5 separate regions of the Homo sapiens genome follow, and regions 1, 2, 4 and 5 are each linked to region 3. Evidence: promoter capture Hi-C in 16 types of primary human blood cells and fetal thymus (Javierre and others, 2016). All regions are on one chromosome and are shown on one strand. The core of a region is centred on a gene start or on the middle of the fragment in contact, and the rest is flanking DNA. Distances in the headings are between cores, read along the strand shown. Region 1 holds the start of CHADL (chondroadherin like). Region 2 overlaps ADSL (adenylosuccinate lyase). Region 3 holds the start of ST13 (ST13 Hsp70 interacting protein). Region 4 overlaps MRTFA (myocardin related transcription factor A). Region 5 overlaps EP300 (EP300 lysine acetyltransferase).

Region 1 (2,700 bases), core at 174-2,673, 380 kb after region 3:
TGTCACAGATGCAGGCCTGTGGGCAGCGCTGGGCGGCGGCCTGCCTAGCCGGGGCCAGCAGCAGAAGTACAAGAAGCGGCAGCACCAAGGGGACATGGGTGGAGCTCCGGGGCCTGGGACGGGGAGGGAGAGTCTGTTGTGCACAAGGGCCGAGGCCACATGCTGTCCCTCACTTAGTCCCAGCCATGGTGCAGCTCCTGCCCCAAAAACCCCTCAGAGCCTCCTCCTTTGGGCCCAGGAAAGTGCCAATCACCCTGAGCCTCCCTGCCCCCCACCCCCCACGCAGTGGAGGTCCTATGATTAGTCCTGTTTTACATGGGAGGAAACCGAGGCTCAGAAAAGTGACCTGGTTAGTCCCTTTGCCTCTGCCCAATGGCTCAGTGAGGACTTGCTGACTGTGAGAATGACTCCAGTTCAGAGCATGTTCTCAGGCTGTGGTGAGGCTCTGGTCCAGGGTAGGCTCGGAAGCAGCCTGTCCTCAGACTGATATGATGCCAGCTCCCAGGTGGCAGGAGCATAATGGTACCCCCCAGAAAGGAGGGAGGCATCCAGTCCGGGTCCTTGAGTCTTTTTTTGTTTGTTTGTTTAAATAGAGACAAGCCTTGCTCTGTTGCCCAGGCTGGAGTCTGGAGTGCAGTGGAATGACTATGGCTTACTGCAGCCTTCACCTCCTGGGCTAAAGTGATCCTCTCACCTCAGCCTCTTGAGTAGCTGGGACTACAGGCACACACCACCACGCCTGGCTAATTTTTTAATTACTTCTGGTAGAGACAGGGTCTCGCTATGTTGCCCGGGCTGGTCTTGAACTCCTGGCCTCAAGTGATTGTCCCACCTTGGCCTCCCAAAGCGCTAGGATGATAGATCACCTCCCCTGCCCAGCTGGCCCCTCTGTTCTCAGCCTGTGTCAGGCATGGCCTCTCCCCCATCGCTGGGCTGTTCCCCGGCCCCCAGGAGCCTCCCCCTCGCTGCTCACTGGACTATCGTCTGTTTTGGAGTCTCCTTTGGGTCCCAGGCTCCAGCCCCTGCGTTGGAGTTGGTGGCTTCTCCAGAGCCTGTGGTGAAGGCTGTGCCTCAGGGCAGGCCAGGGAGGGGACCCATGGGGACAGATCGCTGAAGCGACAAGCATTCATAATGCAGGGACCACTGCTGGGCTCTCAGACAAGCCCCAGAGGACCAGTTCCTGGCAGTGGCCACATTGCCACGTGTCTCAGAGCCCACCTTGGGAGACCCCCTTCCTGGAGAACCCCAGGAAGTCCCCAGAGCCCCTGCCCGCCAGCCTCTGAGAGGCCCAGAGGGGGCAGAGACTTACCTGAGGCCACTGAGCTGCTCTGAATCCCCCCTTGCACCATCGGGCCCAAAGACTCACCCCTCCATGCCGCCTGGAACTGCTGGTCCAGCCTGGAGGCGCAGCGCAGGGACAGGCTGTCCCCGCCTGGCAGGAGCCCCCCTCCACGGCCCGCAGGCCTGGCAGCTGGGACAGGGCTGAATGGGAGGCATTGTCGGCAGACCAGGCAAGCCAGGCTTCCCCAGGCTGAGGTGAAGAAGGGGCGGGCGGCGGGCGGGAGCAGCGGCTGGAGTTACAGGGCCTCCTGCCTGCCCCAGCCGAGGACTGAGGCCCCGGCCTGAATCCTTGGGCCAGCCCGACAGGGAGGGGGCACCAGCAGCTGGCCCGGGAGTCAGCAGTCCTGGGCTCCCTCCTGCCATGTGGGCTGCCCTCCCAGAGGCTGCTTCCTAGTCTCTGAAAAACACATCCCATTAATAAGTAGCTCTGAGGTCACAGTGGGGGTTCAGGCCCGCACCTGGCACACAGTGGGTGCTTCAGAACAGGTGACCCTTTCCTTCCGTTTGTGCTTACACATTGACATAAATAGTTTAATACTGGACACACAGGATTCTAGACACTCATTTTTTTCACTTAACCTCAGATTACTGGGAGTTATCCAAATTGACTCTTCCGAATCTCATTATTCTGTGGTATATAGTATTCCATTGTGTAAATGTATCACATTGACTTAGCCATTCATCTTGGACATTGGCTACCTCCAATTTTTTGCTATTTACAAACAATATTGCAAAGAATATCCAAATACGCATCTTCCCAAGCTCGTGTTTGTTTTTTAAATAATACATCCAGACCATGGCCAATGTTCATGTATCTTGATTTTTCAGATTCCTGCTTCTGATGGAATTGCATCTTCTACTGTTTGTTCCTTTAATTGGAAACAGGGGTCAGGCACAGTGGCTCATGCCTGTAATCCCAGCACTTTGGGAGGCTGAGGTGGGAGGATCACTTGAGCCCAGGAGTTTGAGACCAGCCTGGGCAACACAGACTCTGTCTCAAGAGAAAAAAAAAAGGCCGGGCGCGGTGGCTCACGCCTGTAATCCCAGCACTTTGGGAGGCGGAGGCGGGTGGATCACGAGGTCGAGATCAAGACCATCCTGGCTAACACAGTGAAACCCTATCTCTACTAAAAGTACAAAAAATTAGCCGGGTGTGGTGGCAGGCGCCTGTAGTCCCAGCTACTTGGGAGGCTGAGGCAGGCAAATGGCATGAACGCGAGAGCCGAGATGGCGCCACTGCACTCTAGCCTGGGCAACAGAGTGAAACTGTCTCAAAAAAGAAAAAAAATATATACATATATATATATATATATATATATATATATATATATATATATATATATATGTATGTGTGTGTGT
Region 2 (2,700 bases), core at 111-2,610, 490 kb before region 3:
AGAACATCCTGGGCAACATGGTGAAACCTTGTCTCTACAAAAAAATACAAAAATTAGCCAGGTGTGGTGGTGTGCGCCTGTAGTCTCTGCTACTCAGGGCTGAGGCGGGAGGATAGCTTGAGCCTAGGAGGTCAAGGCTGCAGTGAGCCATATTCATTCCCTTGCCCTCTGGCTTGGGTGACAAAATGAGATCCTGTCTTAAAAAAAATACAAAGATGAATAGATAATCCTCATCTTCAGAGAGCTCAAAACTTAGTGGTGAATACTTGTAAATAGGTCATTATGATACCAAGCAGTACGTGCAAGGACTGAGGGCTAAAAGACTAAAACTGGAGGTAGGAGACCAATAAGGAGGCTACTGCAACGGGCCAAGCAGTAGATGATGAGAGCTTGAGTGAAGGCAGTGGTGAGAGACACAGACCGGGGAGGGAGAGGAGGTTAAGCTCTTGGTGGCTACTTGAAGAGGGCTGGGAAGCAGGAGGAAAGAAGCTGTGGTGATTTTTAGGTTGGATGGAAATGGTGAAACCACCTGAGAGAACACAGGCTGGGCCAGTTTGCGGGAAAGGTTGGTGAGCATGTGGGCATGGTGGTTGAATCATCTGTGTCTAGGCAGAAATTCCTGATAGGCAGTTGAGGAAAACAAGCTCAGTGTTGGAGTAAAAGCTTCATCAAATTAGGTTTCAGTGGTATCCCCTGACATTGGAAAAGGTATTATCTGCTAATATCTTAACATTTTCTTTTGTCTTGTATTTGCTTTCCTCTGGCAGGTGCAGAGATTCTTAGAAGAGGAGGTGTATCCCCTGTTAAAACCATATGAAAGCGTGATGAAGGTGAAAGCAGAATTATGTCTGTAGAGTTGGAAGAGAATTAAACGAAAATCATTGTTAATTGCTGAGGCATGAAAATTGTGTTACTATAATGCCTTATTTTACCTCGAGAATTGTTACCTTAAATTAGTACAGCACTTTCTTCTTCCCATGGTGCTTTCCTGTTTCTCAGTCTCACATTTCTCAACAAGGCAAAAACAAAGAGCGTTGAAGTTGACTCTGCTCTTGCATAGTAAATGTAGTTCATACTTGATCTCTGTTCTTTCAAGGCATATTTTCCAGCTGCCTCAAGTTTAGTCCTTTTCACGTGTTCATTTGCTTGTAAAGTAGCAAGAAATTTCTGGTCCTGTCTTCTAAAAGTGAATTTGATCTAGGTCTAGCAAAATAACCTGGACTCAGTGATTGAGTCAATGGTCAGATACCTTTTATTTCGGTTATTTTTGGCTAGTATAAGTGATGAAGTTTGGAACTACAGTAAATACTTAAAAAAAAAAAAAAAAAGAACCAAACCCTGATGTGACCATCAGGCTGATTGAGCTGAAGTTGTGCCCAAGCTCATTTCATCTTTTGATAAGGCTTATACAGCAGGGAAATGCTAATTGAGTATATTGATTTCATCAGGGCCGCTGACAGTCTTTATTCCTTGTTGCATGGATTTTGTTGTTGAGGCTTGCTCTGTCACCCAGACTAGAGTGCAGTAGCACAATCTTGGCTCACTGCAACCTCCGCCTCTCAGGTTCAAGCGATTCTCCAGCCTCAGCCTCCCAAGTAGCTGGGATTACAGGCGCCTGCCGCCATGCCTGGCTAATTTTTGTATTTTTAGACGGGATGGAGTTTTGCCATGTTGGGCGGGCTGGTCTTGAACTCCTGACCTCAAGTGATCCGCCCATCTCAGCCTCCCAAAGTTCTGGGATTATAGACATGAGCCACCACACCCAGCCTAATCTTGTTTTCTTTTTTTACTTGTTTACAGTGTAAGCAAGTGCCATTGGACAAGAACGTTGTCTGTGTCATTCCTTGTTGTATTTCCAATAGCAAGAGCACATCAGATACTTGGCAACTAGGCAGTCTTCCAGCTTCTGCCACTGCGCCCGACTTCCTTGTTGCATGGATTTATAGCTGATTGAAGCAACTGTAGCCAAAGATTGAGTTAATTACCTACCTGCCAGGAGAGCACTAGTGTTATTTAGCCCATTCTCATCCTACATATTTTTCGGCATAGATGAAAATGAAAGCTTTTGTTTATCAGATTTGCAGATGACACAAAACTGGGAGAATTAACAAGTATGTTTATTTGGTAAAATAAGTTTTCATCTCTAACCTAAATCGGCTGAAATGATGTGTCCTAAACTAGAGGAAAAAGTTAATAAAGATCAATGTAAATAAGTTAATCTTAAACTCAGTATGCACCAGAACTGAGAGAAGACTGTTTTAGGAGGTGTTAATGGTTGTCCAGTGCCCAAAAAGCCACCAGAGGCTTACTGCTCCGCACTCTTGGCATTACATTCAATTTTGGATACCCAGTCTGAGGAATAGAGATGAACTGGAGAGCCAACCTCCAAAAAGATCTTGTGGTGGAGGAATGTTAGGGCTCTTTATCCTATACAGAAGAAAACTCCTCGGCACTTCAAATATTGCCAGGTGCAGGAAGAGTGACTTGATTGTGTGTTGCCCCAAGAGACACACTGAGCTCAATACCCATTACTGAGACTGGCTTGGGGCCAGACATTGGAACCACTGAGATTAGCAACCTACACTCAATCCCCCAGGTCAGGCAGAAGCTGGAAGACTGCCTCGTTAGGAATGTTGTGAGGGAGAGGAGGCTGAATCGGTTCCAGTTTTATTTAAAAGTAGCCAGGAAATCAGGTTGCGA
Region 3 (2,700 bases), core at 4-2,503:
CTGCAGTGATCCCGCCACTGTATGCGGCCTGGACAATACAGCCAAACCCTGTCTCTAAAAGACAAAAGTCACTAAACACATAACGTTCACAGCAGCACCTCTTAGGAGTCGCAATGGTCTGCATAGTTGCTATTTATCCCTGTTTAGTGCAATTTGTATGTCATCTTTTCAGTTCCCCATTAGTAATAATTTTTTAAAAAGTCATCTTAGGGAAGACTTCCCTGTCACTTTTTCTCTTCGGTGCTCCTTCAACACATAAAATGCTAATTACTATTATATAGTAAATATCAAAACGAACTTTTCTATTTATTCGTCTAAATAGACAGTACTTATACTGTTTCCTAGCACCAGGCACAATGCCTTGTCAATTAACTCCTTGCACGTAGCGAAGTACTCTACAGTTAAAGACAACAAGATTATATCCTGGAAACATGCCAGGCCTTAAGAAATTATTTTTCTCAGACGTGTTTGGAGTGATAACACTGCCAAGTAACGGAGGTATAATAAGTGATTCTCAAGATAATTAATCCTACGCAGCTACAAACGCTGTAAGGTAAAAACAATCATTTTTACAGTTATCATTTTTATTCTTACTAGTTTTGTAACTTTTAACTTACTAGTGTTATATTATTATAACACGACGTAAAGGAATAGTGCGTAAAGGAACTGCTATGTACCAATGAGACCTGAGCAGGGCACACAAGACTGAAAGAAAAACAACCCCACGCAAAATCTAAGTCTTGCAGTTTTCACTCCTCGCGTCTCCAGTGTCCACGCATCCGCAGTCCTGTTTTTGTATTTCGCCCAAGATACACCCCTGGGCAACCTCAGGGTGCGAGGAACCCAGCTCTGCCTCCTGCTCCCCGCGGCTCCTGTACTACCCAAGGCTCGCGATCTTCCATGACCCCTCGAAGTTGCCTCCCTTTCCCGGGCAAAGAAGGGGCAGCGACCCCGCCTCGCCCGCCGGACCGAGCCAGGTCCAGCCTGGCTCCCCCCTGGGGCCGTGCTTCCCCCGCCCCCAACGGTCCTCAGGCCTGGGTCTCACCTCTCCACCCACTCCCTCAGGAAGCGCATTTCCTCGGTGTGCAGAACGCTCGGATCCTGCTTACACATTTTCACAAAGGCCCGAAGCTCGTTCACTTTGCGGGGGTCCATGGTAGGGAGGTGGTGGGCGAAACTGGGGGGGCTACGGCCCGGTTCCAGGCCCAGGCGCTGGCTCGGCGTGACCGCGCAGAAGGGGGCGGCTGCCGCAAGACAGAACAGACTAGAACCTCCCCGGCCGCTGGCTCCTCCCACCCAACGGTCTCGTGACCTCGGGTCCTCCGCCTGCTCATTCCTACTCCCTCTGCGCTGCTCCTGCGCGCTCCCTAGAATCTTCTAGAAGCGTGGCTGTTCGTGCTGTTGCCTGCCTCCCTGCGCATACATTCTCATATTCTTAACTAGGAACCAGCTCCCTGGATGGGGCAACCCCAGAAATGGGCGACTTCAAGGAGGCGGGAGATAACATCCCCTCCAGGGGGCGACGTCCAAGAGCATATTGTGTGGCTGCGTGCACTGAGTAGAGCTCAACGCCCGGGACCTAAAAAAAAAAAAAAAAAAGGGCGTGGAGCCGGAGGGTCGGTCCCAGCTCGGGGCATGACGTCACAACCTGCGCCGCCGCGCAAGGAAGGCCCGCGAGCCGCCTCCGCCGGAAGGGGAGGTGCGGCTGGCCCGGTTTCCTGGCGACGCGGCCCTGCAGGCGGTTGCGTTCCCCGTCGTTACCCTCTTTCTCTTCCCGACGCGTGAGTTAGGCCGTAATGCCTTGGCTGCTCTCAGCCCCCAAGCTGGTTCCCGCTGTAGCAAACGTCCGCGGCCTCTCAGGTTAGACTCTTCTCCCACGGTCTCCTCCCATGGTGTCCCCTGGAGGGACCCAAGTTGGTCTCAGGCGATCCCTGGTTCGGCTGACCCTTCTCCTGGTGGGGCCTCCGCTCCCCAACCCTCTGTGCTCCGCGGATTTCTTCTATACCGGCTGCTCCTGGAAAGGGGTGGGCCCAGTGTGTTCTCTACCGTTGAGGTATTTTGTGAAGCCGAAATGACTGCAGAGAGAAAAGTGTGCCATCCCCCAGAGGGGCTGTCTTCCAAGTTACTCGGACTCCGAAGTTGTGGCAATTATCACACTTAAGTGACAAAGTGTCTCACATCAAGTAGCTCTTGTTTCTGTTAGGCGTGAGAGCTTGCTCCAGAATATACACGAAGCATGTTTAGTAACAAATTCTTTCAGCAGCTCCTCTTAGGAGAGGTAACTGTTTCGAAATACTTCTGGGGCGTTCTGTGTCTGAAAGTCCTGTTTGCAAAGACAAGACGAAGGATAAGGAGAATAATTTTTTGTAGGGTGTCCTCTATTGCGAGCAATTAATCTGATGAACATAAAGCTTAATCAGTGAAAACTGAATCACCTTCCTTGCAGGCGGATCTGCCATTGGATCGTATTTCAGTTTTTTGGGTCAATATATGAACAATGTGTGAACCAGAACGTATGGTATTTGACATCAAAGCTATGTCTTGGCATATGTTTATGTTGATATACTTGAATTCATTTAAAATGGAATGTTAATTACATCGACTTCTTACTATAAAAAATAAAAAGTTATTGTCCAGTGCACAGAACTTGTTCTTCAGTTCTCATAGTAAAGCTGCAGAAAGACAACTCTCCGTGGGATT
Region 4 (2,700 bases), core at 102-2,601, 420 kb before region 3:
TCCAAAGCACTCCAAAATTCAGGCAAGGAGGATCGGGTGATCATTCCATATCCTTAAATGTACAAAAAGAGAAACCTCATTCCAATCATGTTCCATATAATCACCATGGGAGGTAAATGAGAGAAGGGATGAAGTAGGAGAAGCAGAGCTTTCCATTTAAAACCACAAGGCCAGGGCTGGCCCTAGAGTCTAGCAGGCTCTGGCCTCAGAGTTCTATGGAAAGCTCTAAATGGAAATATAACCAGCAATGCAATGAGCTCTGAAAATGCTCTTTGGGAGTTCTGAGGGGGAAAAAAGGTACCTTACCCTGGCCCGCTCCAAGCTCCTTCTCTGCTCATGAAATGCGGCTGGACTTTTCAAAGCTGTTGAGAGAAGAACCGTAAAGATTACCTTCAAGCGAAGCATCATGTCTAGTGCTACGATATTCAGTGGAGAAGGCATCTTAAATTCATGTTACTGGCTGGGCGTGGTGGCTCACGCCTGTAATCCCAACACTTTGGGAGGCTGAGGCAGGCAGATCACGAGGTCAGGAGATCGAGACCATCCTGGCTAACATGGTGAAACCCTGTCTCTACTAAAAATACAAAAAATTAGCCAGGCGTGGTGGTGGTGGGCGCCTGAAGTCCCAGCTACAAGGGAGGCTGAGGCAGGAGAATGGCGTGAACCTGGGAGGCAGAGCTTGCAGTAAGCCGAGATTGCGCCACTGCACTCTAGCCTGGGCAACAGAGCGAGAAACCGTCCCCCAAAAAAAAAAAAAAAAAATCACATTACTGTTAGTAGTACTATAAATATCAGTTGAAGTGAAGGCAATGACACCTGAGTAAGCATGTATCTTTATGGTTTAGCTACCCCATTCAAACAGTTTTGGTAGAAACCAAAATATGACTCCTAATGGGAACTGTCACTGCCTAAGCTTGGGCTATATAAAGTGCACCCATGGAATGTAACTTTAACAAACACCCTGGCCCATGACTGGACCGTCAGCCGCAAATCCCCCTTCAGCTAGGACTCCAAGAACGCCTGCTAGGCCTCACATTATTCTCAGGACACCTGCACACAGGAAGGGGCACAGATGCATGCCAAATTAACCTTACTTCCTCAACCTCACGAGGAATCATAAAGTGGCCAAACTGTTTCAATGGGACAGTTAAAACCAAAAAGATATATGTCCACTCGGCACTATTTCCTTCTTCACTGCACCTGTTATTTATAGTGCTGCTAAAATTAACTTGAATTTCATCTCTAAGGACTAAAAGAACCCCATGGCAATTGTATGTGAAGGAACACACACAACCGACAGCTGAGACGAAGGGCTCAGCTCTATTCTGGGGATACCACACAAAGACCACAAGTCTCGACTTCTGCAAACAACACTCAGGTGGCAAGACCAAACCAAGAGCCTCCAGAAAGGCTGCACCATGAATGGAAGGTCTGACTCCTTTTGTCAAAAACTTGGCTGTAAGGACAAATAGCAACTTAAGACACTCTGAGGATGAGAGGGAAAGGCCTGACTCACTTCAAGTAGGGAACAGAGGCAATAAGAGAGAAATTTATAAGACTGTGGTCAGTTTCACTTCTCCTGCCCTAGAATTTCCAAAGAGCTGTGAAACTGCGAGCAGAGATAACTTTTGCTAGGCTGCTGGCTGCGGTAGGAGTGCAGGGTTAAGGAGCTGCTAAAAGTAGCAAGAGAGCATAGATAGGACCCTATCCTGCCTGGGCCGTTGTGCTTCTTCCTCCTTCCTCTCCACCCCCAGCGGGGGGCTGGGCCTCAGCAACAGCAGTCCCAGAAGAAAGCTTCAATTGTCCCAGTGGTATTTATTTTTAAAAATTTTTTGTGAATCTTAAGATAAAAAAGAAACTACAGTCTTAAAAGTACTACTGAGATCCCATCTTCTAACAGAAGGGGGAGCTCTAGATTTAACAAATAACATCAAAGAAAAACCAGTACAAGTTACCTCCCCAACCTACCTGGGCACTATCCAGGATTCCCCACTTCTTACATGGGCAGGTCGTGGGCATTTCAGTGGGTAAATAGACACCCCCTGCACCTGCTTCTACTGTGTAACGCTAGCTCAACTCCAAACGTCCTGCTCTGCAGGAACCCGGGTGTGATGCATCACACGTAACCTTGGCTCTTGGAAAGCTTAGCACATGCATGAGACAGTAAGTACAAAGAATCAAGAGAAAACGGACACTGTCCACCCCACCCCAGCTTCCTTTTCTGCCTCATTTTTCTCCGCAGCACTCATCACTGTCTTGACAGTCTTTATATAAATACTACGTATCTGGCTGGGCATGGTGGCTCACGCCTGCAATCCCAGCACTTTGGGAAGCCGAGGTGGGCAGATCATGAGGTAAGGAGTTCGAGACGAGCCTGGCCAACATGGTGAAACCCCGTCTCTACTAAAAATACAAACATTTTTGTACAGGCATGGTAGAGGGTGCCTGTAATCCCAGCTACTCAGGAGACTGAGGCAGGAGAATCACTTGAACTCAGGAGGCAGAGGTTGCAGTGCGCCAAGATAGTGCCACTGCACTCCAGCCTGGGAGACAGAGCAAGACTCCGTCTCAAAAAAAAAAAAAAAAGGCGGAATACTACATACTTTTCTTGTTTACTCTCAGTCTCCCACGTTTACATTTACAACATGTCCCCATCAGAGCACAGCAAGGGTTTTGTCTATTTTTTTAGTCACTCACAGC
Region 5 (2,700 bases), core at 99-2,598, 290 kb after region 3:
CAGCACTTTGGGAGGCTGAGGCGGGCAGATCACAAGGTCAGGAGATAGAGACCATCCTGGCTAACACAGTGAAACCCCCGTCTCTACTAAAAATACAAAAAATTAGCTGGGTGTGGTGGCGGACGCCTGTAGTCCCAGCTACTCAGGAGGCTGAGGCAGGAGAATGGTGTGAACCCAGGTGGCAGAGCTTGCAGTGAGCGGAGATTGCGCCACTGCACTCCAGCCTGGGCGACAGAGCAAGACTCCGTCTCAAAAAAAAAAAAAGATACAGAATCAGACATAAGAATTCTATCTTTTATTATTCAATTTCACAAAGGCATTCAGATCTAACATTTTGCTCATATTCACAGGTTTGAATCAATTTGGCCAGATGAGCATGGCCCAGCCCCCTATTGTACCCCGGCAAACCCCTCCTCTTCAGCACCATGGACAGTTGGCTCAACCTGGAGCTCTCAACCCGGTTAGTTTGACGTCTTTGGTAATCTCTTTGGCCTTTACCTGGTATTTTGAAAATCCTGTTTGTTCCTACTTTATAAATTCTCACAGTCATTTAAACAGACCATAACTCCTAGTTCTTCTGTAATTCTTCTGTATTTAACTCTACTAGAAAGCTGACCAAAAAACGAAAACAGCCAGTCCCTTGTCCCTGGAGTGTCAGTGTTTAGTGGCCTGCATGCGTTTTCACGGTCACTTCTCTTCCCTGATGTCTGTCTTCCCTCCTCCAGGCAGAGAACTGTCTTGCAAGGTTGATGGTGCGTTTTTGCCTGGTTCTTGAACTCGGAGAAGAGAGACTAGGCTTCTCCTGCTCCTTATGCGAACTCTTAACCAGTCCATCTCTCTACCTTGACCCTAACCCTCCTGCTGCCCTTTAGAGTTAGCTGGTGCCTCTGATTCTTGACCCTTTTGGGGGTTCCTGAGCATTACTACTTCTCACTAATCTGCCATTTTCAACAGGGAGTTCTGTCCTTCATTTTAACCTATAAGACAGATGGTCTTAGCTTATGAAGTTTTTGGCCTTTGGTACTCGAGATTTCTTTCTTTAAGGCCTGAATTTGTGTAGGGTAATTTTGGAAATGACATGTAACAGTGCTAGAGCATTTGTGGACCATGAATGCTACCAGATTCTGCTACAACTTGTAAGATTTTCTTGTTTTTACATATTATGGGTCTTAGAATTTGTGTTATTACATCACTGACATGACCTCATGAAATTGTGATTAACTCTCCTCACTTAACAGAGCATGCAAAGAAAATTACCTGCTATCCTTGTGCTAGGCATATTTGTGTACCAAGAGAATGTGTGTTCCATCCTCTTACTATTTCTTGGAGTAGGCCTAGGTAAACTGTGAGGCTATTTCTCTTTATCTTGGCACAAGAGTCAGTTGTTCTACAACTTTCTTCCTTCTCCTCTTCAGCCCTCTTCACCTATACTCCTGTCTTTGGCTTTTCTCTACTTAATAAGCCTGACGTTAGGAGCATTTGATGATTTTAGTTATAGTAGAATAACTATAATGAAGCAGTTTGGTGATTTGTGTTTTTTTTTTTTTTCAGCCTATGGGCTATGGGCCTCGTATGCAACAGCCTTCCAACCAGGGCCAGTTCCTTCCTCAGACTCAGTTCCCATCACAGGGAATGAATGTAACAAATATCCCTTTGGCTCCGTCCAGCGGTCAAGCTCCAGTGTCTCAAGTATGTCTCATAAGTGGATTTTTCACTTATTTTTGATTCTTGAAACTTCTCTTGATGTAGGTTTTTATAGGAGAGAGTGGCAGCAAATAGTGGGTGAAAACAGATGATTTTTTAAAAAATAACAATTTTGGACTTAGGGTATTCTGAACATGAAGAGATTATTCTGTGACATAGCAATGGTGTTAATTGTTACAAAGTAGGAAATAATTTAAATGGATAGTTTTAATTGTTTTTACTAGTGAACACTTTAAAATAAATCTTAGAATTAAACACAATGTAGAAGGAAATCTGGCTGAAAAGAGCATAGGCAGGCCCTAGAGCACTCTGCACTCAATTCTGCCATTTTTCTGCGGTGGCTGAGGCCATTCTGCTGAATGGTTTGAAGTCTCTTTAGTTAAGTACTATCTTGATGGTGCTGTCCAAAGATACATGCCCAGTAATAGGGTATTTTACACATTTTGAAATAGACACATTGCTACTCTTTGTTTAATCAGTTTGTGTCCTAAATTTATATATCATGCCTATGTAAGTATTTCCTTAATTCTGTTCTGAATTGCTGTCTTGTTATGTTTTTTATTTTAACAGGCACAAATGTCTAGTTCTTCCTGCCCGGTGAACTCTCCTATAATGCCTCCAGGGTCTCAGGGGAGCCACATTCACTGTCCCCAGCTTCCTCAACCAGCTCTTCATCAGAATTCACCCTCGCCTGTACCTAGTCGTACCCCCACCCCTCACCATACTCCCCCAAGCATAGGGGCTCAGCAGCCACCAGCAACAACAATTCCAGCCCCTGTTCCTACACCTCCTGCCATGCCACCTGGGCCACAGTCCCAGGCTCTACATCCCCCTCCAAGGCAGACACCTACACCACCAACAACACAACTTCCCCAACAAGTGCAGCCTTCACTTCCTGCTGCACCTTCTGCTGACCAGCCCCAGCAGCAGCCTCGCTCACAGCAGAGCACAGCAGCGTCTGTTCCTACCCCAACAGCACCGCTGCTTCCTCCGCAG

The links. Contacts are between HindIII fragments. The CHiCAGO score rates a contact against its expected background, and 5 or more counts as called.
Region 1: a contact is called between the fragment with the promoter of CHADL here and the fragment with the promoter of ST13 in region 3, in 2 of 17 cell types (fetal thymus and M1 macrophages). The highest score is 23.5, in fetal thymus.
Region 2: a fragment that was not itself captured here is called in contact with the fragment with the promoter of ST13 in region 3 in 1 of 17 cell types (naive B cells); the score reaches 5.0 in naive B cells.
Region 4: a fragment that was not itself captured here is called in contact with the fragment with the promoter of ST13 in region 3 in 2 of 17 cell types (megakaryocytes and naive B cells); the score reaches 5.8 in megakaryocytes.
Region 5: a contact is called between a fragment that was not itself captured here and the fragment with the promoter of ST13 in region 3, in 4 of 17 cell types (M2 macrophages, monocytes, M1 macrophages and 1 more). The highest score is 8.7, in M2 macrophages.

The regions. Positions count from the first base shown.
Region 1 is chr22:41,239,508-41,242,207 of GRCh38, forward strand. It overlaps CHADL (chondroadherin like), which reads right to left and starts at 1,424. Exons shown (of 6, transcript NM_138481.2): 1 at 1,367-1,424; 2 at 1-113. The coding sequence starts at 1,374. RefSeq lists enhancers at 1,027-1,527, 1,528-2,028. The HindIII fragment of the contact is 52,914 bases long and covers 1-2,700 here.
Region 2 is chr22:40,365,669-40,368,368 of GRCh38, forward strand. It overlaps ADSL (adenylosuccinate lyase), which reads left to right. Exons shown (of 13, transcript NM_000026.4): 13 at 768-2,700. The coding sequence ends at 854. Among named protein-coding and RNA genes, the nearest start is that of SGSM3, 3.6 kb to the right of the region's middle. The HindIII fragment of the contact is 1,399 bases long and covers 662-2,060 here.
Region 3 is chr22:40,855,386-40,858,085 of GRCh38, forward strand. ST13 (ST13 Hsp70 interacting protein) reads right to left here and starts at 1,254. Exons shown (of 12, transcript NM_003932.5): 1 at 1,046-1,254. The coding sequence starts at 1,155. XPNPEP3 (X-prolyl aminopeptidase 3) reads left to right here and starts at 1,763. Exons shown (of 10, transcript NM_022098.4): 1 at 1,763-1,860. The coding sequence starts at 1,797. RefSeq lists enhancers at 982-1,751, 1,379-1,598, 1,609-2,068. The HindIII fragment of the contact is 3,469 bases long and covers 1-2,409 here.
Region 4 is chr22:40,435,193-40,437,892 of GRCh38, forward strand. It overlaps MRTFA (myocardin related transcription factor A), which reads right to left. Exons shown (of 15, transcript NM_020831.6): 5 at 307-362. Among named protein-coding and RNA genes, the nearest start is that of SGSM3, 66 kb to the left of the region's middle. RefSeq lists enhancers at 1,099-1,158, 1,419-1,548, 1,669-1,718, 1,789-1,838. The HindIII fragment of the contact is 881 bases long and covers 912-1,792 here.
Region 5 is chr22:41,147,487-41,150,186 of GRCh38, forward strand. It overlaps EP300 (EP300 lysine acetyltransferase), which reads left to right. Exons shown (of 31, transcript NM_001429.4): 12 at 351-460; 13 at 1,552-1,689; 14 at 2,275-2,700. Among named protein-coding and RNA genes, the nearest start is that of EP300-AS1, 49 kb to the right of the region's middle. The HindIII fragment of the contact is 4,498 bases long and covers 1-2,700 here.